7 separate regions of the Homo sapiens genome follow, and all the other regions are linked to region 6. The links are contacts of gene promoters, found by promoter capture Hi-C in blood cells and fetal thymus (Javierre and others, 2016). All regions are on one chromosome and are shown on one strand. Each heading gives the region's core, a stretch centred on a gene start or on the middle of the fragment in contact. The rest is flanking DNA. Distances are from core to core; before and after follow the strand shown. Region 1 overlaps GALNTL6 (polypeptide N-acetylgalactosaminyltransferase like 6). Region 2 overlaps LINC02268 (long intergenic non-protein coding RNA 2268). Region 3 has its middle 12 kb from the start of LINC02268. Region 4 overlaps LINC02268 (long intergenic non-protein coding RNA 2268). Region 5 overlaps LINC02268 (long intergenic non-protein coding RNA 2268). Region 6 holds the start of HAND2 (heart and neural crest derivatives expressed 2). Region 7 overlaps CEP44 (centrosomal protein 44).

Region 1 (3,437 bases), core at 557-3,056, 560 kb after region 6:
ATTCAGTTAGCTGTTCTTTTGGTTTTATAAAAAGAATATTTCAGGCATGGTTCTTGATTTCCTGGCTTGTCTAAAATGCTTTCACGTTGCATCATATCATACCAGAATGTGTATGATTCAGTGATGCTAAAATTGATCAGTGGGTTTAGGTGATGGTAGCTTGATAATTTTATTGTGAAGTTTATCATCAATACTTCATCTAAGGTTTTATTATCTAATGAGGACCATTTCTTTAATCAGTTATTGCATCAGGAATTGCAAAATGTTGATTTAGAAAATTCTTTCCTTTTGAATTTATTATCTGAGCATCTGTATAAAATCCCTCAACTACAGAGCTCTTTGGACATCCTGAAATGCACATTATACCAGAAAAGCCAGACAAATGCTTGTTTCCCTTTAAATCTCAATTTCTAGAGTCATGATTTGGTGCCCAAGCAACTGCCATTGGTGCCCAGTGACTTTTATTTTATTTTTCTTTCTCTCCTAACTCCCTTTTAAAAAATATCATTTTAAATTTACAACATTTTGTATATTCAATTTGTTTTAATTAATGGGGTCACTTTTTTATTGTTCATGTTGTCTCATCTATGGCAAGTGGGATCCCCTTCTAGCTGACTCCCATGTCCTTTTGACATGACCTCCACCAGCCTTTGAAAGCTTTCTTCCCTTTCTACTTTCTAGAGTAACAAACTATCTCAGCCCACCGTCTACCTTTCCTGCCCCACAACTAGAATCAGCTATTTCTTCATGAATCTTTAGTTCTATTTGTGAACAATTCTATTTAGAGACCACAATTGAGAGCTAGGTGTGCTCACTGATTGGATTGAAGTTATTTCTAGACTTTTTCAGTGGACAAAGCTAGAATGTGGCTATTTTCCGAAAGTAGCTGATGTTGAAATTTCTAATTCAAGTTTAAGATTGTAGGGTATTTGTTTCTTTAATTTTAGGCTTAGATATCTTTTGATATGTGTTCAAAAATCTTATTTGTTTATAACATTAACATACTTTTAAATTTGTGCATTTGAAAGGAAAGTAAATTCCAAAAATGCTTTAGAGTTAGATAGGTATATTAGATCTACATTATTGATGACATGGTTTAGGTTCTATACATCCTTATTCATTTTGGTCCACTTATTCATTCTTGGATCAAGAGAGGTGTGTTAAGGTTCTATTATTAGCATGTTTCTTTCTGTTTCTCCTTAGATTTTTAGCAGTTTCTGCCTTATGTAAGTTGTTTTCAATGAATTGCAGTCTTTGATATTATAATGTCTTTCTCAGTCTCTTTTAACTTTTTGACTTTTTTTCTCTCTGTATTCTACCTTGCTTCCTATCAAGATCTCAAACCCTTCTTTCTTATTACTTAAATTTGCCTGGCATATTTATGCATATTCTTTAATTTTTAATGTTTCTTTATCATTTTGACTTAGGTATGTCTCATATACAGCAGAGAGAGTTGCCTTTTTAGTCAATCTGAATCTTTTTCTTTCTGTGGATTTATATGTTTGATCTCAGCTCTGACATACTGATTTATTACATAATTTACTGTTATCTAGAAGGTCTTTTCCCATATGGCCTGTTTTCTCTTTCCAATCTTTAGTATTTAATATGGTTTGTGTTTTTGTTCCACTTCTTGCCTTTACACTAATATTATTTATAATAGCTGAAGCTTCTCTTTTTAAATTAATGCCTAACTCTACCTTTCTCTAAGCAATACTAAAGTTGGCTATAACTATTACTGCTTTTCTTCCATCCTCCCCAGTGTCTAAACATAGATGATACTGTTTTACTCCTGGTTAATGCCTATGCGACAATCAGCAAACGTATTCTGCTTTCCACTCACTTTCCCCACTTGTTACTTGTATTATTTCTACATTGTCAGATTATATATAATTTGTATATTCCTCCATCCTGTAGCCAATTTCTACCAGAGCCTGCAACAAGCTTCTTCAAGCAGCTCTTGGTTTTCTAATGCTCCTTCTCCAGCAGATTGCTCAGAAAGGCTTTTGGTAAAAATAATCCCAGAGTTCTTGAATATTTATAACTGCTTTTTGATGGCCTTGTGTCTTAGTCTGTTTTGTGCGGCTATAACAGAATATCACAGACTATAATTTTTAATAAACAAATTTATTTGGCTCATGGTTCTGGAGACTGGGAAGTCCAAGATTGAGGGGCTGCATCCAATGAGGCCCTTCTTGCTGCATCATCCTATGGGGGTGACAGAAAGAGGGAAGGGAGCCAAACTCATTCTTTTATTAGAAGCTTGCTCCCACAATAACCCACTCCTGTGATTGTTGCAGGAAGTCAGGGACCCTGAACAGAGGGACTGGCTGGAACCCCAGCAGAGGAACATAAATTGTGAAGATTTCACGGACATTTATCAGCTCCCCACATTAATACTTTCATAATTTCTTACCCCGTCTTTACTGCAATCTCTGAACATAAATTGTGAAGATTTCATGGACATTTATCAGTTCCCCAAATTAATACTTTTATATTTGCTTACACCTGTCCTTACTGCAATCTCTGAACATTAATTGTGACGACTTCATGGAGATTTATTAGTTCCCAAATAATACTCTTATAATTTCTTATGCCTGTCTTTACTTTAATCTCTTAATCCTGTTATCTTTGTAAGCTGAGAATGTACGTCACCTCAGGACCACTATTGTACAAATTGATTGTAAAGTATGTGTGTTTGAACAATATGAAATCAGTGCACCTTGAAAAAGAACAGAATAACAGCAATTTTCAGGGAACAAGGGAAGACAACCAAAGGTCTGACTGCCTGCAGGGTTGGGCAGAATATAGTCATATTTTTCTTCTTGCAGAGAGCCTATACACGGACATGTAAGTAGGAGAGATATCGCTGAATTCTTCTCCTAGCAAGGAATATTAAATATTAAGACCCTAGGAAAAGAATTGCATTCCTGGGGGGAGGTCTATAAATGGCCACTCTGGGATTGTCTGTCTTATGTGGTGAGATAAGGACTGAAATACACCCCGGTCTCCTGTAGTACCCTCAGGCTTATTAGGGTGGGGAAAAAATCCTGCCCTGGTGAATTTGAGGTCAGACTGGTTCTCTGCTCTCGAACCCTGTTTTCTGTTGTTTAAGATGTTTATCAAGACAATACATGCACAGCTGAACATAGACCCTCATCAGTAATTCTAGTTTTGCCCTTGCCTTGTGATCTTGCTTTGCCCTTTGCCTTGTGATCTTTATCGGCCTTAGAAGCATGTGAACTTTGTTCTCCTTTTTTGCCCTTTGAAGCATGTGATCTTTGTGACCTACTCCCTGTTCGTACACACCCTCCCCTTTTGAAATCCCTAATAAAAACTTGTTGGTTTTGTGGCTTGGGGGACATCACAGACCTACCAATACGTGATGTCACCCCTGGCTGCCCAGCTGTAAAATTCCTCTCTTTGTGGTTTTTCTCTTT
Region 2 (3,936 bases), core at 512-3,011, 600 kb before region 6:
AAGTGTGTATTGCTGAGCTGTCTACAAGATGTGCTTAAATTGTGGAATGCTGAGCATTTTATTATGTACAAATGGAAACATTTTAGAATTACACGCAAATTAAAATATTAGCGCATCTGGAGTCCCTTTGTGGGCAAGTGAAGAGAGGCTGCAGTTTAAATCTGTGCGGCACTGGTGGCAAATGTGATGTTCTATGAACAGCTCTTAAAATTGCTGTCTGTAATATTATTAACATTTTGTATGATTCTTGGATTTCTCTTAATGATATCACATACTTTTGTGTTTTCATATGGCCTCATAAAATTTGATTTCATTTGATTTCTGTTTTATTTAGCATTTTAAAAATTAATTTAAAATGGAAGCTATTTTATCCTTATTAACCCCTTTTACATTTTTACATGTTCTAAAGAAAACCCAAATTATTATTTAAAAAATACATGCAATATGGAATTGAGGCTTATTACCTCAACAAATACATTTTATTTAAGAGATATACATTGGAAGATGATTCAGACCTTCTTTGTTTTAACTAGATATAAAGGATAAATGATTTTTTAACTATCCAATGATTTAAAAAAAAAGTTCAGCAATACAAATTCCACATCTGCTTCAACTGCAGACATATAAAACCAGTGTGACACAAAAAGGATCATTAAACAATCTGATTTTCTTGTTGGGAGGGTTTAATGCTGTTGGGCATAGTATTAAAATGTAGAATTTGATAGCATGTCTTAAACTTTTAATGATGTGTTCATGAATATAAAACATGCTTCTCCCAGTGACTTTATGGCTTCTTCTCTGCATAATTAGTGGTATCTGTTTTATGAGCTTACTGTTGTTTCCTTGATCCCATGAAAATGTGAAACCACTGTAATGATTTACACCATTCCAGAGCTTTAAAGATACGAGCTGTTTCTTAAAATAAATAACAAAAAAAAATCCAAAAGTATAATCCTAGAATTAAAGTCATAGTGGGATCTTTGAATGTTAAAAAACAAACAAAGAGGATTTGTACATAAATACATTTTCAACATTTTGTTTGGTAATATCTGATTTTCAATAAACACTAATATAGAATATATTCACCATTTATTACTTACACAAAGCTCTCCTCTTATTATATATATATATATATTTTTTTCTTCCTCATGGTTGAAACATTTGGGAAAAATCTCTTTGGAAAAATGTACAAATAATTGTTTGGATCATTTGCAATTTGGGGGAGTTACTAATTGAAGTAACAAAGAGACATTCATTACTAAACATTAAAGATCCACAAAATTCCAAGTAAATTATATTATTAATTCTTTTAAAATTGTCATTAGTAGAAGCACAAAAGAGTGTCTGTACTGTTGACTTTTAGACTTAAACTGATTATTTTACTTGTCATAATAGAGTGTATATTATTTAACCAAATATAACTTTGTCATATTGCCTCAATAACTGAAATAACCTTGATCTTTTTTATGATTTCCATTATTTGGTATCCTGAAATGTAACTTTCTCAATGATCCTCAATTATTTTATGTTTTTTTTTTCTTAGTTTGATTACTGGTAGGAAAATTTTATACACGAATAAATTATATGTTATATATTCATGTAAAAATTGTATCCAAAACAGGAAAATAACAAATAATTGGCATAAGTTGCATGTATGTTTGGATTATTGCTAAGCTTTTTCTGTTGCTGTCGAAATGGAGCTGTGGCTGTATGTCTCAGAAGAGTGTCTATAATCAGCCAGGTTTCCCACCGTAAAACAATTGGTTTGGATTCTCTTCTTTGATTGGATTGACTTTTAAAGTATAAAGTGTCAGTTATTTGATGCCTCATGCAACCTATGTAAGCTTAAAAAAGTTTTTGTGGCTAAGGTAAGTAGTTACTTCTTAAGGTAACACTGACTTAGTAAGATGATACTTAACAGACTTAAAATGTTGTGTTTTCATTATATCCACTAAATAAATATAGCATTCTAATTATTAAATTTTAAAATAGAGATATTTCACCATCAGTGATTCTTATAATTTGAGGACTTGCATTACTTTCCTTCTGTTTTAGTAAATAATTTGTTTTAAAGTTATCTTGAAGTTGTTTGGTAGAAACAATCACAATTGTAAGAAGTGGAGCAAACGTCACTTTAAACAACACAAACATGTTAATGACTGTAAAGCAAATATTGGAAATGCGAATCCATTTTCTATTTGGATTCTAGTGAAGATGATTTCCAGTGGAAAAAATCATTTCCAATAAATTGAGTTAAAAACTTTTTGATGTACAGGCCATTAAGATAGAAGTATGGCCCACCCATTCTAGCTGTCTATTCCTGGAAGTATTTTAAAACATTTTTTTTTGCAACATTTCTCTAGTTTTTGTGCTGTATCAACCAAAGGCAATATTCCAGTGCCCAAAGCCAAAAAGATGTCTTGCTTTTACACTAACAGCTTGATTTCCACCCATCATTTATTTGGAGTTTTACTATAATAGCACATTTACTAATAGCACATCTGAAAGTTTCCCTTTTGAAATTTAAAGAGATTAGTGTCCTACATTTATTTAAAGGAAACATACTCCAAATTTAGTGACATTAAGATCAAACAAATGTGTATGAGCTTTTATTTTTTGGCCCCAACCTACAAGAATTTATTTTACTACTCTTTAACCCCCTTCTATATGAACATTTAGTAGTCATTGTTCACGTTCACTGCAATACTCCTTCAATCCATCCAGTTCCTGATCTTAGATCCTAAATTAGCAGTTTTAACTGTGATTTGAGAATCAATAAGGAGAAAGACAAATGCATTGCAAGTGAAATTTGGGTTCAGTTGTAGTTGAAGTGGTAGAATTCTATAATAAAAAATTATCCTCAGGTCACTCACACCTTGGGTTCAAATGCAAATTTAAATGATAGAAATGACTTACATTTAGTACCTTATGAGGTTTTAATTTTAGCCAGTCCTTTTTTTTTTTGAGACAGAGTTTCACTCTTTTTGCCCAGACTGGAGGGCAATGGTGCAATCTCGGCTCTCTGCAGCTTCCGCCTCCTGGGTTAAGTATTCTCCTGCCTCAGCCTCCTGAGCAGCTGGAATTACAGGCACGCAACACCATGCCTGGCTATTTTTTTTTTGTATTTTCAGTAGAGACAGGGTTTCACCAAGTAGTCAGGCTGGTCTTGAACTCCTGACTTCCGGTGATCCGCCCACGTCAGCCTCCCAAAGTCCTGAGATTACAGGCGTGAGCCACCGCGCCCTAGCCAGTCTTTTCTTGTTAAACTACCATATTATCTCATTTTCTAATATGTACTAGTTTTCTCTCATACAAAGTTCATATATATTAAAAACATAATCTTCCATCACACATATGCTTTTTAACTTTTCTAATCCAGTAATTATTTTTGGAACAGCTCTTATATTCAATTTTTTAAGCACCAAAAAAGATGTTGAAAAAAATTACGAAAGTTAACTTCTTGTCAACACTGATATGAGGTCATAAACCTGAGCATGGACCTCCTGTTCCCCAAGCAGCAGCCTAATGAACAAAGCACCAAAATTTCCCAATAGTAAGTCAGAGAAGTAGAACCATGTCTTATTCAGCATCTATTGCAGTGTCTGGCACATGGTACATTTTCTTTTCTTTTGAGATGGAGTCTCACTCTGTCTCCCAGGCTGGAGGGCAGTGGCGCCATCTCAGCTCACTGCAACTTCCACCTCCTGGGTTCAAGTGATTCTCCTGCCTCAGCCTCCTGAGTAGCTGGGATTACAGGCGCGCACCACCATGCCTGGCTAATTTTTGTATTTTTAGTAGAGATGGGGTTTCACCATGTTGGTCAGGCTAGTCTTGAACTCCTGACCTCGTGATCTGCCTGCCTCAGCCTCCCAAAGTGCTGGGATTACAGACTTGAGCCACCACACCCGGCCACATGGTACATTTTCAATATGTTTC
Region 3 (3,778 bases), core at 1,120-3,619, 700 kb before region 6:
TTCTTTTAAGCCCATTCAGTGAACTTTTATTCTAATTATTGTATGTTTTAGTTCTAGAAATTCTATTTAGTTTTTATAATTTATATTTCTGTGCTGAGATTATCTTTTCATTCATGACTGGTGTATTTTTCCTTACACCTTTTAGCATAGTTATAATAGCTAAGATACTTGATGGCTCATTTCAGTATTCTATTTCAATATTAAATACTTGTCTATTTTAATATTTAGTATTTTAATATTCAATATTTCAGTATTGGATATTTCAATATTCAATTTTCAAAATTCTTATTTTAATGTATGAATATATTCAATATTCATTTCAATATTCTGGATCATTTCATTGTCAGTCTTCTCTAATTTTCTTTTCTTTCGAGAATGGGTTACATTTTCCTGTTTCTTCATATGTAGAGTAATTTAGATTGTGTCTGGAACATGGTAAGTAAAATGTTGCAGAAACCCTGGATTTTTATTTGTTTCTCTAAAGGCTTCTTTTTTTTTTTTTTTTTTTTTTTTTTTAAAGCAGCTAGTTAACTTGGCCAAACTGCCAGCTGCAAGCTCTGGTTCCCCTAGAGTTCGTGGCAGCTCAGATTTTAGTTCAGCTTTTTAACCTGGCTATTGTACTTGAAATCTCTTCTGTACATGCATGCGTGGGAGACCAGCCAGCTTTAGCAGAGTCATACACAGAATTTAGGGCTCTCTCTGTGGTTCTTTTCGTATCAGGATTTCCCTCTGCGTTTTCCAGCAGTTGCCATTACCCCAAACGTGTCCTAGTGTTCTTCAAGTCAATACAACTGTAGTCTCCACATGATGCAGAGTGAGGAGTTCCTCAGGCTATGAACTATAAAAATAGGAAACTCACCCAGTGCTATTTCTTCTAAGTATTCACTCCTCTGTAGGATCAACCTGCTTTTGGTTGTTTTCTATTACTTTCAGTTAGTTAATTTTTAAATATTTTGTCCAGAGTTTGTAATTTCATATGTTGGCAGGTTGGTCTGAAAGAACTTCTTGACCATCACTTGAAGTGGAACCCTCTCCAATTGGGTAGTATTCTTTTTCTACTTCCTATGATTACTGAGTAGGGATTTGTTCCTGATTATTTTTAAAACTAGGTGAGTAGAAATTTTTAACATGTTCTATCTATGAAAAACCTTAATTATAAACATTTAGTAAATGTTTACCAAATTAGCAATTCAGTGTTTCCTAGTTGGTGTCCTACTAGGAAGGAAAAAGAAAATGAAAAGAAGAAGAGAGGAAAGAACAAAAATGCTTAACAACTTTTAGAATTCCCTCCAAATTTGTCATCAATAGGGTTTTTACTGAATACATTCTTTTAAAATTAGCACTCTCTAATCTTGATGAATTTGTATTTTCATAAAAATCTGTATTTTCATATTTCCATTCATTTGCACTGTGTTTCTCTTCGGGAAAGCTGTTAACCTTTCTTCATATTTACCTGTTGAATGTTATTTGTCCTTCCAAGTCCTGTTAGATTCTTTCCCCTCCAGGACAACTTTCTTAATTCTTGCAGGTGGAAATTTTGTTCTTGTATCTCACTCAGTGCCTAACACAGATGTTAGCCCAGAGTAGTTTCTCAATAAATCCAGTTGAATCATTTTTGCTCTGGTTTAGATTCTATATAATCACATAGAAATATGGCTTTACTATTTCCATTTTTAAAAAATACATCCAGACCTTTCACAATTTACAAACCAGAGTATATTAGCTAACTTTTAAAAAATATTAAGATTCAACTGTGTATTATTCTAGACATAAATTCACCTCTCCAGAAATAATTTGAACTATCTGAATGAGTTATTGCTACTTGGAGATTGCCTACCTACTTTTTTTCGTGCAGACTCGGTGACCTTTTTTAAAAATAAGAAAAACATCAAGAGTTTGTCATTGATCTTGTTACTTCTTTTAATTGGTCTAAGTTTTTGACAATATTATGAATATTGTGCTCAATGAGAGTAAGCTTATTCATAAGCTTTAATATTTAAAATAACAACTTGTTTATTCAAATTAAAACCTGTTTTCCTGTGTCAAAAGTGAACTTTTTCCTAAATATCATTATTAATAACACTATTGCCTACAGTTTCTTGTCAAGCATTCATAAGTGAATGTGTCTTCTTCTAGAAAGTCATCTTAAGGAAATAATTCCAAATTGGGAAAAGGCAATATGCACAACTTTAATTACATCAGTTTTTAAAAGAAAAAAGAGATGGAAACACTGAAATTCTAACAAATACCCAACAAATATTCGAGTACATTCTATGTACCAGACACTATGCTAAGCACTGGTTGAGAAGACCAAAATACATCCTCATGATGTATTACTATGATGCAATGATATTTATCAATAATATGGGAAAATTCTTACAGATATTATAAAGTATATAAAATTGTACATGTGTGTATTGTACATATATATACACAAATTACAATTATTATATAAAACAAAGCAAAAACCTGTGAATACAAAGAAGAGACTGGCATAAAATATACCAAAATATTATAGATAGTGGATTTTTTGTGTATTTCCTCTTTAAAATCTTCTTAAGGATCATATATTTTAGATAGAACAAAATAAATTAATCAAACTATTCAGAATATGAACAATGTCCCTAATTTACCTAGTAGGCTTTCCCTTCAGAATGTTTCCATGTATTTTTATTCAAAATTTATTTTAAAAAGACACTTAGTTGACCTGTTAAATCATTATCTGGACAAATGTTTTGTTTTCAAGCTTAAAAATGTACATTGTTTTATTTTATTTTTGTCTCATCAAATTAAAGACCAACAAGAGAAAGATATCAAATCTTTACTGAGGAAATTTTTATTTGTTAAAAAAAAAATAAAGGCTTTCTTCCTGGCATGGTTGGACAGGAAGGTTGGATTTAATTTAAAATGATTAATGAGATTTTGTCAGACTCCTTGACTTTGCCACCACTGCAGTTTGTCAGTGCAACAACCTGGGAAGCCGGACGCCACTCTGTCGCCCAAAACCATTCTCCAAGGAAAAAATTAACTGGAAGGACTAGTGCCAGGTCCCCATCAGTGGCGTTGTCTCTCTGGTATTGACAGTTTAAAAGTCTAAATCAGAAATATGTATGTTTGGGGACTCACATACTTAAGATATTGTTTTTAGTCTCTTTGCAAGTAGTTAATCACTTTTTAAATATTTAAGTTGTTGACATTTTCTAAAGGAAACTTTGAAGACAAAATCTGTACTAATGTCCCCTCTCAATTTGTTTTAAAAATTAAAATAAACAAGGAATTTTAGGATCTCAGGTTACATTCTATTTTTTAACTTAAAGAATTAAAGTGAAGCATTTTTTTAAAAGTAAAATCATTTTTCATTGTTCAAAATACTTTTAAAAAACAAGCATGACTAATTTTATAATCAAGTTTTTAAATTAAGGTATAAGGTTGCAATATGACTTAATACACCCTTATTTATGTATGTATTGTTTAAAAATGATGACATTAGCTAAACTCAAATTGCTGAATATACCTAGTTACTAGGTGGCAAATGGAATATATATTTTTGCTTCAATACTGATATTGTATTTAGTATTGTACAAATTGTTGTATTTGACATTTGTGTTTAACTGAAAGTTAAGTAAATGTTAATACCAATTAAACACCAAATGTCAATTGCTAATTCCAAAAACAATACCAATACCAAATTACAATAACAATTGTACAAATTGTTATTTGTATTTGTAGCAATTACCAATACCAGTGTTTATCATTTTATTTCAAAACCTGTCCAAAA
Region 4 (3,772 bases), core at 1,062-3,561, 660 kb before region 6:
CTCTGTTGCCCGGGCTGGAGAGCAGTGCTGCGATCTCTGCTCACTGAAACCTCCGCCTCCTGGGTTCGAGCAATTCTCCTGCCTCAGCCTCCTGGGTAGCTGGGATTACAGGCATGCGCCACCATGCCTGGCTACTTTTTCCTTTTTTTTTTTTTTTTTTTTTTTTTTGTGGAGATGGGATTTCATCATGTTGGCCAAGCTGGTCTCAAACTCCTGATCTCAGGTGATCTACCTGCCTCAGCCTCCCAAAGCATTGGGATTACAGGCGTGAGCGACCGTGCCCATCCTGTTCTTTTTCTTTTAATTGCTTTTATGATTTTCTCTTTGGATTAGTTTTCAGCATGGGTTTCAACATTAGTATTATAATGATGTGAGTAGTTGCTGATTATTTTTTAGTTTTTCCTTTTTGTGCATTTATAGTTTTTTCAATTTTGGCTTCATTTATTTCATCAGTTTATGAACATTCCCAGTGATTTTGCCTTTAAATATAACTCCTGTTCATTCTCTTCCTTTTTTCTTCTGGAGCTTCTATCCATTGTTGTTAAACTTTTATACTATACTATATCTCCGAATCATTCTTATTTTCTCTTCTGTATTTTCTGTTTTTTAGTCCCTTTATGCTTCATTTTGAAAATTTTCTTCGGATTTACATCTCAGTTCACAAATCTCTCTTCAACCGTATTTGATTTACTATAAAACTCATCCATTGAGCTTTTTAATTCTGGTTATTTCATTTTCTGTTCTGAAATTTTCATTTTTAAAAATAGATTTTAGTGCTCTACTTAAATTTGAAATATTGTCCCTGACCTTGAACATAGTAAATGTTAACTCCAAATTAGGTGTTCCTGTGAGTGTGTTTGTATTGTTTGTTTTTGCTGTTTTTCACTAGTGTTGCTTTTTTGTACCTGCTTTTAAAAAATATTCTCTGAACATTGTGTTTACACAATTGTTTTTAATAATATTCTGGAAAACAGGGTACTGTTGTAATTTCCAGAGAGGATTTGCTTTTCCCCCTACCAAGTAACTGGAAGCACGAGCCAAGTGGGATTATCTTAACTCAATTTCAGTATTGAGATGATTTTAAGCTCAATTACAGTTCCTATGAGTGCTGTACACCACCACCCCACTCTTATCTTTTCTTTCACCCTTTTCATCTGAAGGTTCATTCCTCCAGAGTTTCAACTCAAAATAAGGAGAATTCAACTGGGAACTCCCTTTGGCAGGCTCTGGACTGTTTCTGTTCTCTCAGTCAAAAGCACCATTCCCTCTCTCACCTTTTCTCTTTCAGATTAAGAGGACAGAACCCCACAAAACAGGGGAAAAGTGGCCACAGAGCTGGACTTACTTTTCTGATTATCTTTTATACTTCAGGATCCTGAACTAGTAACTTCATTAACACGTAAGCTTTACCATGCCTTAAAGTAAATATTTTATACATTTTGTCCAGCTTTTCTAATGTATTAGAGACCTGCTTCAGATGATCTAGTGTACCATTCTCCCTTTAATTCTTTTTAATTTCTAAAACTGCTGTTATTTTTGTTCATGTTATGATCAAATTCACTTCAGTGCAGTGGCAATTTATTTGCTGTTTGGTGAAGCCGGTCTAACAGACTAAAGTAGGATCTCTGTGAGCCAGGCATCATCTAAAAAATCTTCATATTTTTCATCTGTTTCACACCTCTTTCCATTCAGATTTAACTAGAATATTTCTTTAAAGTTTTCCAATTATCTCATATTTTCTTTGAGATAAAGTAGCTATTTTTCAGTTATGTGATATACCCAAAGTAGCTCTGGTTTGCCTCCAGGGATCATGGCATCTCAGTAAAATGCATGTGAAACACTAACTTGCACAGACACCCTAAAGATACTTTTGTCTAAATATTATTCAATATGAGCAGTTTTTAACATCACTTTTGAAAACAATAATTGAGGAAGTTCTTTTCTTTATGTGTGTCATGTTTTCTAACTGTACTGTTATAGGTTGCTTCAGTTGTTTTTTGTCTGTATTTGATTTTTTATTATTTCATTCATTCATATGACAGATAATAAAATGGGATTTGAAAAGACTGAAAATCAGTTACGATAGTAGATTTCTTGGGGCCTAATGGAGATAGAAAAGTCCATCCATGAGAGCTTGAGACATTCAGATAAACTTGATATACCCCAGGCCCAGAAAATTTAGAAAAGAAAGAGGTATGATTTGATTAGTCTAGTAATTCTCAATCCTGTTTCCCTCAGCTCAGAGCTCCCTAAGCTAGTGTGTGCATCAGTGAGCTGAGTCATTACCCCAGCCCCATGCACTTGCCTTGCTCTCTGGCCGGAGGTGTCCCTGTTCCTATAGATGAGTGGGCCTGCTGTGGCAATTTCTCCATACTTCCTTGTGTTTTTCATAGAAATGTTCCTAAATCATTAACTTACTCTCCTCAATGAACACCTCTTTTTCTGGTCCTGTGGCTTCCCTGCTGCTGAGAAGTTAGCAGGATACTAGGGAATCTGATGGTCACCCGTGTATATAGAACCTATAAGTGTTAATGGTTGTGGGGCAAATTTTGAATAGTGTGAGTGCTGGTAGATAAGTTTTATTCTCTCCTTTACCCTAAAAGGACCATACTTTCATAAACGTCCACCAGAGAGATCTTGTGCAAAAGGGCAGTCAACTTATCATGAAGCTGTATCCAGAACAACACACTCCCTTCTATCTCCCTCACATTTGCTTTCATGACTGCATTCCTGGATTGTACTCCCCCAATAAAGTGTTAGCACATCTGCTTTGCCTTGGGCTCTGTTTCTAGAGAACATGGCTAAGATAGACTTTATCAGCAACATAATGAGTATTTATGACTGCGATATTGCTGAGTAGGCCCTTGGTAAACACACGTGCAATATTGACTAAAGACTTGCACTTCCCAGAAGGTATTTTGATAAGTATGATTAGCCAATTGAAGTTCAAAACGATAGTTAATAGCAAAGATTTAGTGAGAATTCACTGTCTGCCAGACATTGTGATAAGTGCCTTGCAAGTGTTCTCTTTTTAGTCTTCCCAGTAGTGCGGTTGGTTGGGATACTATTAATCCCATTTTTCTATATGGGGAAGCTGAAACCGAGTGGTTAAATAACTCATCCAGGATCATGAGCTAGAGTCAGAACTGGGATCCAAATTGTACAATTCCAGAACTTATGTTCTTGACCACAAACTGTACTACCCGAACAAAGCTTGGTTTTTGTTTTATTTAGTTTTATTGGTCATACCGCTGTTTCTTACTGTGATGATACTAGAAAGGGCATCTGGGAAAGCCATGCTTTTCAGCATCTTCTACCTACCTGTCCTCTAACAAAGCTCCTTTTTAGAACACTTCTAGGATATTCATGCCCCCATCTAGCATTACTTTTCTCACAGTGTTGACAGTGTCAGCCTCATCCTTAAAGTTGAAGAAAGAGGAGATTGCAGTTGTTTCTGTGAAGAATGCAGAAATATGAGAACTAAGTGTGAGAAATTCTTAAAAGTTTAGCAGTACCAAAATTTGAGTCATAAATGTCAAGAAATGACTACACATTGGCTCTGATTTAAGAAACTATAGAAATTAAAAAAAAATCCCATATGGAACAGCTGAGAAGATATCAAAAATGACAAATATTGTTACCAGAACTAATCAGTCAGACATCTGTTAGTCCAGATTAATTATAAAAATCAATAAACTGATGTTCTCCCAAGGGAAGAAAAACGTGAATGCAAGTGTATGGTTAAAAGCAATTCCTTTTTTGATATTTTCAT
Region 5 (3,780 bases), core at 319-2,818, 580 kb before region 6:
ACAACATTTTCTCATTTGATAGTTGGTCATGTGAAAAAAACATGTTATGTTTTCATGTTATGTTTCTCTAAGTAGAAAGATTTTTCCAGTGAACAAAATCTTAGCTCAATGTTCCCAGTAAGAGTCTGAACAAGCAATCTTGGTATGTTGTAGAACTTCAAGTTCTGTTATGAGCAGAATTTCCTCACAAATGTAGCAAAATTATTGCTCTTACTTTTCAGTTTTTCTTGTCTTTTTTTTTTAATGAAGGACTTGAAACCACCAAATCTTATTTTCTTTCTTATGGATTCTATTAATTATAATGCATATTTGAAAATTGAAGCTTTGTAGTTATTAAACTACCTATTACTTCTGATGTTACCTTTTGGACAAATGGTATTCATTTAATTTTGGGTTCTGTGAATTTTTGATTTTACAAGAACCCTTTGGCTTTAGAAAGAGAATGAGAACATCTCTGGATTCTTTCACCCCTTTTTAACGGTGGGGCTCCGTGTACTTTCCACTGAAGGAGTGAGCATTGTCAACTAGTTAACACAAGCTATTGGAAAAATCCCTGAATTTTGTATGGGAAGAATAATTGCACACAAATGCACTCAGGAATCCTATGGAAAATATAGTGCTGTTAACTGGCATGGTTACAACACAATTTAGCAAGTATGTTAGAACAAATTACCCCCTTTAACCATAAGCCATTCTGTTTCACGCTTCTTAATGAAGGCCTGTGCCACACACTAGAATACTTCTCACCTCATTACTACTCATAAAAAGCAATGATCCATTCAAAGTCTCCTCATATCTCCCATATGAGTGGTAAAGAGCTTCGCCTCTCATTCTGGCAGGAGGACAGGGAGGCTTCTTCCCAGCCTGCCTTTGAAGTAGGTCATTAGAATGTTTACTAGATAAAAGGACTCAAAAATTTATCTGTGTAATCTCACTGTTGTCATGTGTTAATGTTCTATCCTTCCTTTAAAAACAAAACAAAACAAAGCAAACAAAACCCAAAGACATTTCTGTCCCTGTTTAGAGAATACAGGAGATTTGTAACACTCAGTGCAATTTTTCTCCTGCAGTATTCACAAGATATTTTCAAAGAAACTCTAAAAAGCAGGAAGAATTTAATGGGCCACTGAAATACAAAGTATGGATTCAATAAAAAGGCAGGAAGAGAAGCAAGCTGATAGGCCAGTTAAGAAGAAACAGTCCAATTTTAGAATTAAACAACTTTTTCTCTCCACGGAGTGTCATCAAAAGGAAAATAAAGTTGAGTATCCTTGGAAATAACATTGTATCGGTTACTAATGAACACGATTTTCATCTAGACTGAAATATTTTTCCCCTATTAATTTCAGGGACAATATATAATACTACTTAAGATGCATTGTGCGTGCTCAATAAAATTTGAGCTGAATGCATGCTTTTTAGATAATGATGATAAGTGGAGAAGGAGGAATTTTTTCATAATTTTTTTGAAGACATTCTAGGTCTAATCCAACTATAAAATTATGTGTGTATATGCATGTGTGCATATATATATATATATATATATATGCACATATTTTAACATCTGACTGTATAATAAGAATGAAAAAGGCTATAGAAGAGTAAACATATCCGAAAATACTATTTAACAACATTAGAGCATTTCAATTAGCAGGAGACATATTTGTCATCTCCATGACATACGAATTTCCATTTTGGCTATTAGCTTAATAGTATCCAAAAGAATAGCAATGTTTGCAATTCAAGAAAAAGCCCATACTAGGTACCAAAACAGTTTGAAAACAAGGTACTAATATCTAACTTCTGTAATGCAATAAAACACTGAAATCTGACACAGATTATAAATTTAAATGGTGTTTAAAATCAATTTCTTTGTAGGAAAACTACACTTAATATAAACTCTCTGATGACATTTCCAACCTTTCTTTGTGGTATCTCTGAAAATTTATCTCATCACCTGATGCAGTACCGTCAAACCCTACCCAACACTTACGCTGAGCAGTTTCTAAATTAAATTGCTATTCTCCAGGCGCTTTCCCAGAAACGCAAGCTCACGTCAGATCACACTCACAATGCTACAGGAGGGAAATGTTGGTACTGTATTTTAATAGGCCAGGGGAAGCACGTGCTCCTAGAGACCAGTCGGCCCCTGCGATAATAACTGCACAGCTTTGTTTCATTTGAAAACATACATCTGTACACACGTACTTACTCAGACATATATCCATGTATACAGAAAAAAGTTCAGCTAATAACAAAAGAAAGGATGAACATTGGCACTGTAGATGTTGACAGCATTATGCAAACTTTTCAATATTCCCTTGCATGCTCAACTTTAACTTTTGTTTATAAATTCCACTTAGACATAATTTACAACTTCTGTTAACTTAAGCTGGGTTCTGTAAATCTGTCTAAAAAAATCAGGGCAGAGTGCTTTGAGATGTTACAAATATATCTAGATATCAAACATTGAGCTGCACAAATTGTATCCACTTTGGAAACTCTAAGTTTGTATTTATGTCCATAATATATTTTAGTTCTGATGTTTTTAAAATGATGAAGCAAGTCTTACTCTTTTTTTCACCCTGCCTTTTCCAATCCTTGCTGAAATATCTATGAAAGAGACTTATGAGCCCAAGACAAATAAAATGAGAAATTCTGGAGGTTGTCACGATTTAAAAACACTTTGTAAGGTGATTTGAGGAGAAAAAAATACAAAAGTCAGGCAAAATTTCTTGCTAACTACCTGAAATTTGTAACTTTATTCTAGTATAGTTTAAAAACTTCAATACATAAAAATGTTATAAAGCTTTGTATCTGTTATTTCACCCTTGCAGAGCTGTTGCAGAGATCTTACCTTCTCATCTTTTTTTAGAAATAGTTGAAATGTCAGAAAAATCTGGATTAAAAGAAAAGGATAAATCCCACCTCTTTAGTAATTCTTCCTATTTATAAATTGCTTTTGCGATCAAAGACAGAAATTGAAGCTCTTCTGAGAGTTTGAATTTTAAAATAACAGAAAAGCAAAACACTTGGCTTCAGTTTTTTTCATTTTTTTTTCACTTTCCTTGAAAGAAGCAGCTGTACTTTTCACTCTGCAGTTTTGGGAAGAATGGAGAGTCCTGACTGATGCCCCTTTAAACTGAAAAGAGAACACTTAGCCAGCAGCATACATTTACAATAGGCTTTGGTTGGAGTGAATTACTCTAATTTGGGGCAGGAATTAAAAAGATTAAGTGAAAAGCAAAATAATGGAGAATAAAACAACTTGATATACTTTAATAAAATGGTAGTTTTTAACTATGAATATACAGTTGTAAATCAAGTATTAATATTAAAAAGGGGGGCAATTCCATATCAAAATGCAATTGGCTATGCATGTGGAGACTTTCTTAAAGAGAGTGTCAGATTCAATTGCATTATTTTCCAGTGGTGGAAGATAGCGGTTGATAAAAAGGTATAAATTGACAGGTAATTTTATTCAGAAGTAAACTTATGCTTCTATCAAATTTAAATTGCTTAGCAACAACCAGAATAATTTCGACTGATAAGGTTATTGTCTTTTCTTCTGCTGGTATGTTGCTGTCTCTCATATTTCAGTGATAATTCTCCAGTTCACGGCTGTACGTGTGGATGATCAAAGAGAAGCATTTTAGCTCATGTATGGTACAGCTTCCTTTAAAAGTTTGCTCCAGCATTGTCCAAGCCCTCTTTGGTGACCTAAATACCCTCCTAGGCTAGATTACTCATTTCCATGGCTTCAGCTACTATCTGTCCTAC
Region 6 (3,901 bases), core at 272-2,771:
GTGAGCAAGGAAAGGACTGTCCTTGTGGAGTCCTTCGGGTGGGGATCGCTTTGTGGCCTGCGGCCGGACTCTGCCCGCCTCCAAAGGGCGATGCTCAAGGTGGAGTCTTTGGTCTCCCTTGGGCTAACCTGGCCTGACCAGCGGCGAGCCCCAGGCCGCCCTGTCCCGCGCTGGCGCCGCAGGCCCTCGCCTCCCTCTAATTTACAGCCCGCGGGCTCCTGTTGACACCGTTTTCCACACCGAACTCCTTCGGGTGGAATCTGCATATACACATCAGCCTCCCCTCTCGGCTTGGGGCCAAGCCTGGGGTGATTTCAGCTCCTGCCATTTACCACCCGCCCTCGCCGCACGTGAGCCTTCTCAAGAAGCTCATGCCACACGGGCGCTGCGGCCCGGGTGCCCCGCGGCCCGGTGACTTACAAGTGGAGATCCATTTTCCGTTATAATGCGTTCAAGATCACCAAGGCCAGCAGTCTCAACATCCACGAGCCGTCCTCCCGGCCTGCCTCTTAAACTGGCGTTTAATGGTTCCCCTCCGATAACTAAACCTGCTTTCCACAGATGCCCGCTTTTATGAGGGAGGCAGGAATGCAGAGATATATTTATATGTTTGTTCATAAAAACTGGAAAATAAGCTCTGAACACGCCGTAAAAAATATTCAGTTACTTACCAAACAGGCTAGTTAAACCAGGGGAACACCGATACCAGCCACACTACAGATTCGGGGAATCGAGGTGCCCGCACTTCAAAATCGCCCAAGGTCTTCGTAGGGACTGGTGTCCCTGAAGGATGTGGAAATAACAGCATTTACAATCGGCTTGACATGTTCGCCCGGAGGACTCAGCCGTCATCTCCAAAGTTTGCCGCAATAACGTGAGCCACCCCAAACAGCTCTAACCGGGGTAACTTGGTGGGTAACTCAATAGCCACTGAGACCGGCGTTTCGAGCCTGTAAACGGGTCAAAGAAACACCCTTCTCCAGCCGCTCCTCGTCCCTGCTGGGGCAAAGAGCGCCAGCTCCCAGCCGCGCCTTTGTGGGGGCCCCCACCGCCCGTCACGAGGCTCCCGGCGCCCCTGCATAAAATTGTAAGAGGCTGCCTGCGTATATTTTCTTACCTCGATTACCTACAAAGCACTTCGAAAAGCAATACCTGCGTTTTCTTTCTTTCTTTCTTTTCAACCAGAAAAGAGAGCAGAGTGATACTGTACCTGGTTAGAGATTCTTCAATATTTGAGACTTGGGGGGAAAATATTTTAATAGTGAAGCATCTGTTAAACACTTGCATTATCCTCTGACTGATAAAAAAAGTTTTTTTAACCCTGCCCCCCCCCCCCGCCAAGTTTTAATTATCTTATGGTTATGAGGAGGTAGCCAATCCTGGAAGAGGACCTCGGCAATTAGCAACGTGAACATCAAAAAGTTTTATTGCCGAGAGCTCGAGGCGCCGCCCCTGCCGCCCCGGGATTGGCGTGAGGAGCCTCTGACGACATATATTAACCCGAGCGGCCCTAAAGATGTAGCTGTACATGGAGATCTTGCTGGGAAAATCCGCTTGCTCCCCTCACGTCGTCCAGCCCAGGAGAACCACCGCCGTCACCCCGGAGCTTCCTCGGCCACCGCGCAGAGCCCTCCGAGAGCCCGAGCCGCGGTCTTCGAGCTCCAAGGCTCATTCAGGGCCCCAGATCCTTGCCCCGAAAGGAGAGGATCTGAGAAAATGGATGCACTGAGACCTCTCTGAAAACCCTCCGAGAGAGCGCGAGAGGAGCGAGGACACGTTACTCGCAGCTAAAATCACATTTAAGGACCAAAACAACAACAACCAAAAATTTCATTAAAACAATAAGCGCCCAAGAACCCAGATCGGGCTGGTGGGGGGAGGGGAAGAGGCGGGAAGGGGAGGGTCGCACGGAGGTAGCTTTGCAGTGAGCAGTCGACCCCGCCGCCCCCCGGCACAGCTGGACCGGCTCCTCCAGCCGCGGCTCAGACTCGCCCCTGGATTCCGGGTTAGCTTCGGTGCCAGGACCGCGGCCCGGGCTTGGATTCCCGAGACTCCGCGTACCAGCCTCGCGGGAGCCCCGGCACCTTTGTATGAGCACGAGAGGATTCTGCCTCCGCGCAGCAGCCCGGGAAGCAGGAGCCGAAGCGCGGGCCGTGGAGCAAGGCGGGAACCGGAGGCGGCGGCGGCGGCGGCCAGGGGCGCACGGTGCCAGGACCAGCTCGCCGCGCCCCATGGGGAGCCGGCGGCCGCAGCGCTGCTGAGGCGGGCCCGGCTGGCCAGGCGGGGGGACGGGGCCCGGGCTGCAGCAGCCCCCTCTGCGGCTGCCGGGCGGGCCCGGGCGCCCGGGGGCTGGGGGGTGGGGGGTGGGGGAGGACGCCGAGCGCTGAGGCAGGGGCCCGGGCCGAGGGCGCGGCGGGGCTGCGCGCACGCTGGGGCGCGTGGAGGGGCGCGGAGGGCGAAATGAGTCTGGTAGGTGGTTTTCCCCACCACCCGGTGGTGCACCACGAGGGCTACCCGTTTGCCGCCGCCGCCGCCGCAGCTGCCGCCGCCGCCGCCAGCCGCTGCAGCCATGAGGAGAACCCCTACTTCCATGGCTGGCTCATCGGCCACCCCGAGATGTCGCCCCCCGACTACAGCATGGCCCTGTCCTACAGCCCCGAGTATGCCAGCGGCGCCGCCGGCCTGGACCACTCCCATTACGGGGGGGTGCCGCCGGGCGCCGGGCCCCCGGGCCTGGGGGGGCCGCGCCCGGTGAAGCGCCGAGGCACCGCCAACCGCAAGGAGCGGCGCAGGACTCAGAGCATCAACAGCGCCTTCGCCGAACTGCGCGAGTGCATCCCCAACGTACCCGCCGACACCAAACTCTCCAAAATCAAGACCCTGCGCCTGGCCACCAGCTACATCGCCTACCTCATGGACCTGCTGGCCAAGGACGACCAGAATGGCGAGGCGGAGGCCTTCAAGGCAGAGATCAAGAAGACCGACGTGAAAGAGGAGAAGAGGAAGAAGGAGCTGGTCAGTACCAGGGGGCGGCAGGCGGTGGGGCTGAGGGGGTCAGGGAACTGGTGCTCCCGGCCTCTTTCCAATTGGGCTGAGAAATGGCATCTCGTGTTCTTTGGCTGCGTCCCGCTTCAAGGTTGTTTGCACCAGGTTGTGTAAGGATGGCTTCCGGCATAAGCAGAGAGTTGAGGGGAGGGTGTCAGCAGGAGGAGGAGAAGGTTAGGGATGCTTTGCGCTGGTGATCTTACCTCCGGGTTATCGCTGCTCCCCTAGTACTTAGGACGGACCTTGAAAACTCTGGGTCGCGATCGATCGCGATCGCACTGGTCTGGATGCCTCACCCCGTCTCTGTTAGACCCTTCTTTTGGCCTCCAATCCAATCTTGCTTTCAGATGTTTCCAGAATAAGTCTCGAAGAAGCCCTTGATTCCAATTATTTCACTATTGATCGCACCCCCTACCCCACTCCCAGAAGGAGGCTGCCAGAGACTGAGCCCTGAGTTTTGTGGTTGTTCTCATACTATGCCCGGAAAACGTAATGGTAAACATAAAATAAGTACTTTTGACTTCAAAATACAGCTCCAATTTTTCCTTGGCTATGACGTTAAAATGTAATTTCCCAGATGAGTATATTCCATTGGCATTTCTAATTTTATTTGAATAAGCCTGTACATTTTAAGGGGGAAAAGGCATTACTATGGTCATTGTTATTAAAAATAACACGAAAGTAAATTGAGCCGCTTAAAATTTTCTCAGATTCCTACCAAGTGCCCACAGGGCAGTGGTGCAGGATAGAGCTATGTCCACGAAGGGCCCGGAAAATAATTGCATTTGTCGAATTTTTCTTCTTTGGCCCCTGCAGCCCTTTGGTGGCTGCATAATCGAGTGACCTCCCGAATAAC
Region 7 (3,913 bases), core at 1,213-3,712, 760 kb before region 6:
ATCTAAAAAAAAAAAAAAAAGAAGAGGGAACACTTCCAAAGTCATTCTGAGGCCTGCATCACCCTGATACCAAAGCCAGACAAATACACTACAAGAAAACTACAGTCTAATACATTTGATGAATATAGACGTAAAAATCCTCAATGAAATGTTAGCAAACCAAACACAACAGCACATTAAAAGAATCATATACCATGACCAAGTAGGATTTTTCATTGTGATGCAAGGATGGTTCAACATATGACAACCAACCAATGTAATATACTGCATTAATAGAATGAAGGATAAAACTCACATGGGCATCTGCACAGATGCAGAAAAAGCACTTGACAAAATTCGATACTCTTTTGTGATAAAAACTCCCAATAAACTAGGTATGGAAGAACCTTATAGCAAATTAGGTAAAGGAAAAACAAAATAAAGTCCATTTATGAGAAGCCCACAGCTAAGATACTTAAAGATAAAAAACTGAAAGCTTTCCCCATAAGATGAGGAACAAGGCAAGGTTGCCTACTTTAGCCTCTCCTATTCAGCGTAGTATTTTAAGTCCTAGCCAGAATAACTAGGTAAGAAAAATAAATTAAAAACATCCAAATAAAAAGAGAAGAGGTACAATATCTGTTTGCAGATGACATGATCTTAGATGTAGAAAACCTTAGGGACCCCAACAAAAATGTGAGAATAAACAAATTTGCCTTTAAAAAAGAAGGAAATCCTGCCATTTGCAACAACATGGATGAACCTGAAGGACATTATGCTAAGTGAAATAAGCTAAACACAAAAAGACAAATACTGTATTATCTCAATGTATGTGAAATCTAAAATAGTCAAATACATGCAAGCAGAGAATAGAATGGTGGTTGTAAGGGAACATGGGGAGAACAAAATGGGAAGCTGTTGTTCAAAGGGTACAAAGTTTCAGTTAGGCAAAATAAATAAGATCTGCAGGTACAACCCAGTGTCTGTGATTAGCAATATTGTATTCTTAAAATTTTGCTAAGAAGTTAGATCTAATGTTAAGTGCTCTTATCACAAAACGTGAAAAAAAGATGAGTAGAAGGAAACTTTTCAAGGTGATGGCATTGATTTCTTGTAGTAATAATGGTTGGATGGTTTCACAATATCTACTTATCTCCAAACAGAAACTGTATACATTAAATGTCTATAGCTTTCTGTATGTCAATCATACCGCAATAAACAGGTTAAAAAATGAAGCAGCACCAGATCCCTGTACACACACCTCTAAAAATAGTCCCTTTGTATATAAAGCACCCCAAATTTTCTCCTTCTGAGTGTGTTATCTACTTAATTAAGGGCCTGGACTACAAAATCCAAGTTTTCACTTTTCACCCAAAGTTTTCCATTCTCACACACAGAATTTTCTCGTTCAGTTAGCAGATGCAAGAAGAGAATTTCAGATATTAGCTTTAAATACTACATTCTTGTCTATACCTGGTATTACTAGCTCTACCTAATTCATTTTCTTTCTTACCATGAAATTATAGAAACAAAAAGGTTACTGCAAAACACTTATAAACATATTGTCAGCATGAAATAATTATAATTATCCTATAATAAATTGTACCTTTTGAACAATTTTGGTCACTTTTTGATCTTCGTGTATTAATAAGTTAATACATGTAAATCATAACCAGAAGGGAAAATCAAAACATTCCACTTACCAAGTAATGATGAAAAAGAGAATGTGTGTGATTTAGTTAATTTAAAATATTATAGAAAGCAACAAATAACAGAAATGGTATCTGGGATAAAGTTCCTGGACCTGGATAAGGATGTTTGGTGATATCTCAAGCTGTTCAACACCTTTGCACATGCCATTTCTTCAAGCTTGAAGAGATACAGAGCAACTCCTTCCCTCTCCCATTCTCCATCTGGCTAATACCCCTCGGCATCCTGCTTAAATGTCACCACCTCAAATAAGTCTTAGATCCCAAACTAATTAATCCCCCTCATTAATTTTCTCTAATAGACCCAGTTCTTTTCCTTCTTGGTACTTATCATAATAAAGAACCAAAATCTGTGCCAAGGGTCCAAAATAGCACTCTACCTGAAAAGCAACACTTAATCCTTGTCATTTCTCAGCTCTATTTCAGAATGAGCTGGGTTACTACCTGGGGTCCCATAACGACCTATATCCCAATGGCCTAGAAATAGAAGGAATACACCGATTCCCCCTCTTGATGCTGATTCTTCACTTTAATAAGCCACCACCATTGTCAGTCAAGATGTTTTGCACTGTCATCGGTCCCAAACTCCTGCTGGTTAGCCAGCTGTCTACTTCCAAGAAGAAAAGGTGAACACAGAAAAAAAGGCAAGAAATTCAAAATATCTATGCTTTTTACAGAAAGAGTAAATGGTACAATTATTTTGGAAAACTTACTGGTGATACCTACTAAAAGCTGACATACATGGGGCCTATGAAACAGGAATATGACTCTGAAGAATGTACACAACAGAAAAACACATACGTGAACCAAAAGATTTGAACGAACTGAGACTTTAAACAAAATGATTCATTTTTTAAAAACTGCCCCAAAAGTAATAGCATGGAATTTATTTCTAAATGACTAATTTTCTTGCATGGAGTGGGACTTTCATTAGATTATCAAAGGAGATTTTTCCCAAAGAAGAGTCATAAATAGGTATATAAACGATTAAGAACCTTTGCTGGAAGGAGGTAAGTTTCTGAACTATAAAAGTCTAGTCAGCCAGTAACGTGAAACTCAATAACTTACATAAAAACATCTACCACAACTGTCCATGGACACTTCATAGAAGAAAAGTAATACATAACAATACCTTGAGTAATGAACCCTTTGAGAATGAAGCTCCTTTAAAATGAAGTTATCACATTAAAATGAAGTCATTATATTAAAATGAAAACAGAACAATTCATAAATCAGGTGAAGCTGGGTTAGTGTGATCTTTTCCTCCAATTCGCATTACCCAGCTGTCCAGGATACAAATCATCCCTTTACACACCGTTTCTCTATCTTTAAATAAGGAAAGGTAAGAAGGTCACCGATTTACAAAATCCTAAATTTAGTAAGCTTCCTACTTTAAGCCCCTCGCCACTCATTTCCACAGCCATTTCCCCAGGGTAGAGCAACTGCTCCCTCTTTATGAACCTACCTTTCTGTTCCTAGTCTCCTTTATCAACATGGTAGGCAACAGCTTATTGAATATACTTTATAGACTTGTGCATGCACATTTTAGTCACTATTTTTCAGCCAATAAATTACTTCAACTAAACATTTACATTTCTAGACAGAGATAATTTTAGGTACTGTCAAATGGGAGATAACTAGAAAAAGAGAAAGTCATCCTGAAATCACATTATACAAAACACTGGCCAAGAAGGTAAACCCTATTTAATATCCTTTAGACTGACTGGGGGTAGATGGACACACGGAAGCCTAAAAGGGATTTCCCAAGATAAGCCTTTACTTTCCTGAAAAACATGAAGTGAGGACTACTCTGGCTTTAACCGCAAAAAATGTATTCTTGGATTTTGCCACTGGCCAATATAGTAGGTCTGAGCTTCTTTCGGGTTCCAGACCCATCTATCGTAACACAATTCTTCTAGGGATACCTTCTTCCCAGTAACTTTAATGTAAATTCTATGTCTTTCCAGACTTCCTTTAGTCCTTCCAGATGTATATTCCATTTTCCCAGTGCAAGTAATTCTGTTTTACGTAACACTTTATGATATCTTCTCACCTTTCCTTTTTCTGACATTTTGGAAAACATTTCAGTGTCTCTTACATGATTTCTACCTCTGATAATGGAATTTCTGACAACAAAGTTATGTCTCTCTTCAGTACCAGTGAATAAATATTTTGAAGAGTAATACAAGCAGAGCTCGTGAACGAGGTAAGTGATAGGAGACAGA

What was found. Contacts are between HindIII fragments. The CHiCAGO score rates a contact against its expected background, and 5 or more counts as called.
Region 1: a contact is called between a fragment that was not itself captured here and the fragment with the promoter of HAND2 in region 6, in 1 of 17 cell types (non-activated CD4 T cells). The highest score is 5.1, in non-activated CD4 T cells.
Region 2: a contact is called between a fragment that was not itself captured here and the fragment with the promoter of HAND2 in region 6, in 2 of 17 cell types (megakaryocytes and M1 macrophages). The highest score is 6.1, in megakaryocytes.
Region 3: a contact is called between a fragment that was not itself captured here and the fragment with the promoter of HAND2 in region 6, in 1 of 17 cell types (endothelial precursors). The highest score is 5.8, in endothelial precursors.
Region 4: a fragment that was not itself captured here is called in contact with the fragment with the promoter of HAND2 in region 6 in 2 of 17 cell types (endothelial precursors and erythroblasts); the score reaches 6.3 in endothelial precursors.
Region 5: a contact is called between a fragment that was not itself captured here and the fragment with the promoter of HAND2 in region 6, in 1 of 17 cell types (megakaryocytes). The highest score is 5.1, in megakaryocytes.
Region 7: a contact is called between a fragment that was not itself captured here and the fragment with the promoter of HAND2 in region 6, in 1 of 17 cell types (endothelial precursors). The highest score is 5.4, in endothelial precursors.

What each region holds. Positions count from the first base shown.
Region 1 is chr4:172,969,934-172,973,370 of GRCh38, reverse strand. All of the region lies in intron 10 of GALNTL6 (polypeptide N-acetylgalactosaminyltransferase like 6), which reads right to left. Among named protein-coding and RNA genes, the nearest start is that of GALNT7, 200 kb to the left of the region's middle. The HindIII fragment of the contact is 275 bases long and covers 1,669-1,943 here.
Region 2 is chr4:174,130,586-174,134,521 of GRCh38, reverse strand. All of the region lies in intron 1 of LINC02268 (long intergenic non-protein coding RNA 2268), which reads left to right. Among named protein-coding and RNA genes, the nearest start is that of LINC02268, 88 kb to the left of the region's middle. The HindIII fragment of the contact is 170 bases long and covers 1,677-1,846 here.
Region 3 is chr4:174,230,060-174,233,837 of GRCh38, reverse strand. No RefSeq gene overlaps it. Among named protein-coding and RNA genes, the nearest start is that of LINC02268, 12 kb to the right of the region's middle. The HindIII fragment of the contact is 759 bases long and covers 1,990-2,748 here.
Region 4 is chr4:174,192,187-174,195,958 of GRCh38, reverse strand. All of the region lies in intron 1 of LINC02268 (long intergenic non-protein coding RNA 2268), which reads left to right. Among named protein-coding and RNA genes, the nearest start is that of LINC02268, 26 kb to the left of the region's middle. The HindIII fragment of the contact is 1,809 bases long and covers 1,407-3,215 here.
Region 5 is chr4:174,108,667-174,112,446 of GRCh38, reverse strand. The region is part of intron 2 of LINC02268 (long intergenic non-protein coding RNA 2268); the gene reads left to right. Among named protein-coding and RNA genes, the nearest start is that of LINC02268, 110 kb to the left of the region's middle. The HindIII fragment of the contact is 2,487 bases long and covers 325-2,811 here.
Region 6 is chr4:173,527,849-173,531,749 of GRCh38, reverse strand. It overlaps HAND2 (heart and neural crest derivatives expressed 2), which reads left to right and starts at 1,521. Exons shown (of 2, transcript NM_021973.3): 1 at 1,521-3,015. The coding sequence starts at 2,461. HAND2-AS1 (HAND2 antisense RNA 1) reads right to left here and starts at 1,379. Exons shown (of 5, transcript NR_136196.1): 1 at 1,211-1,379; 2 at 672-783. The HindIII fragment of the contact is 6,850 bases long and covers 1-3,901 here.
Region 7 is chr4:174,285,403-174,289,315 of GRCh38, reverse strand. All of the region lies in intron 1 of CEP44 (centrosomal protein 44), which reads right to left. Among named protein-coding and RNA genes, the nearest start is that of CEP44, 3.4 kb to the right of the region's middle. The HindIII fragment of the contact is 1,223 bases long and covers 1,851-3,073 here.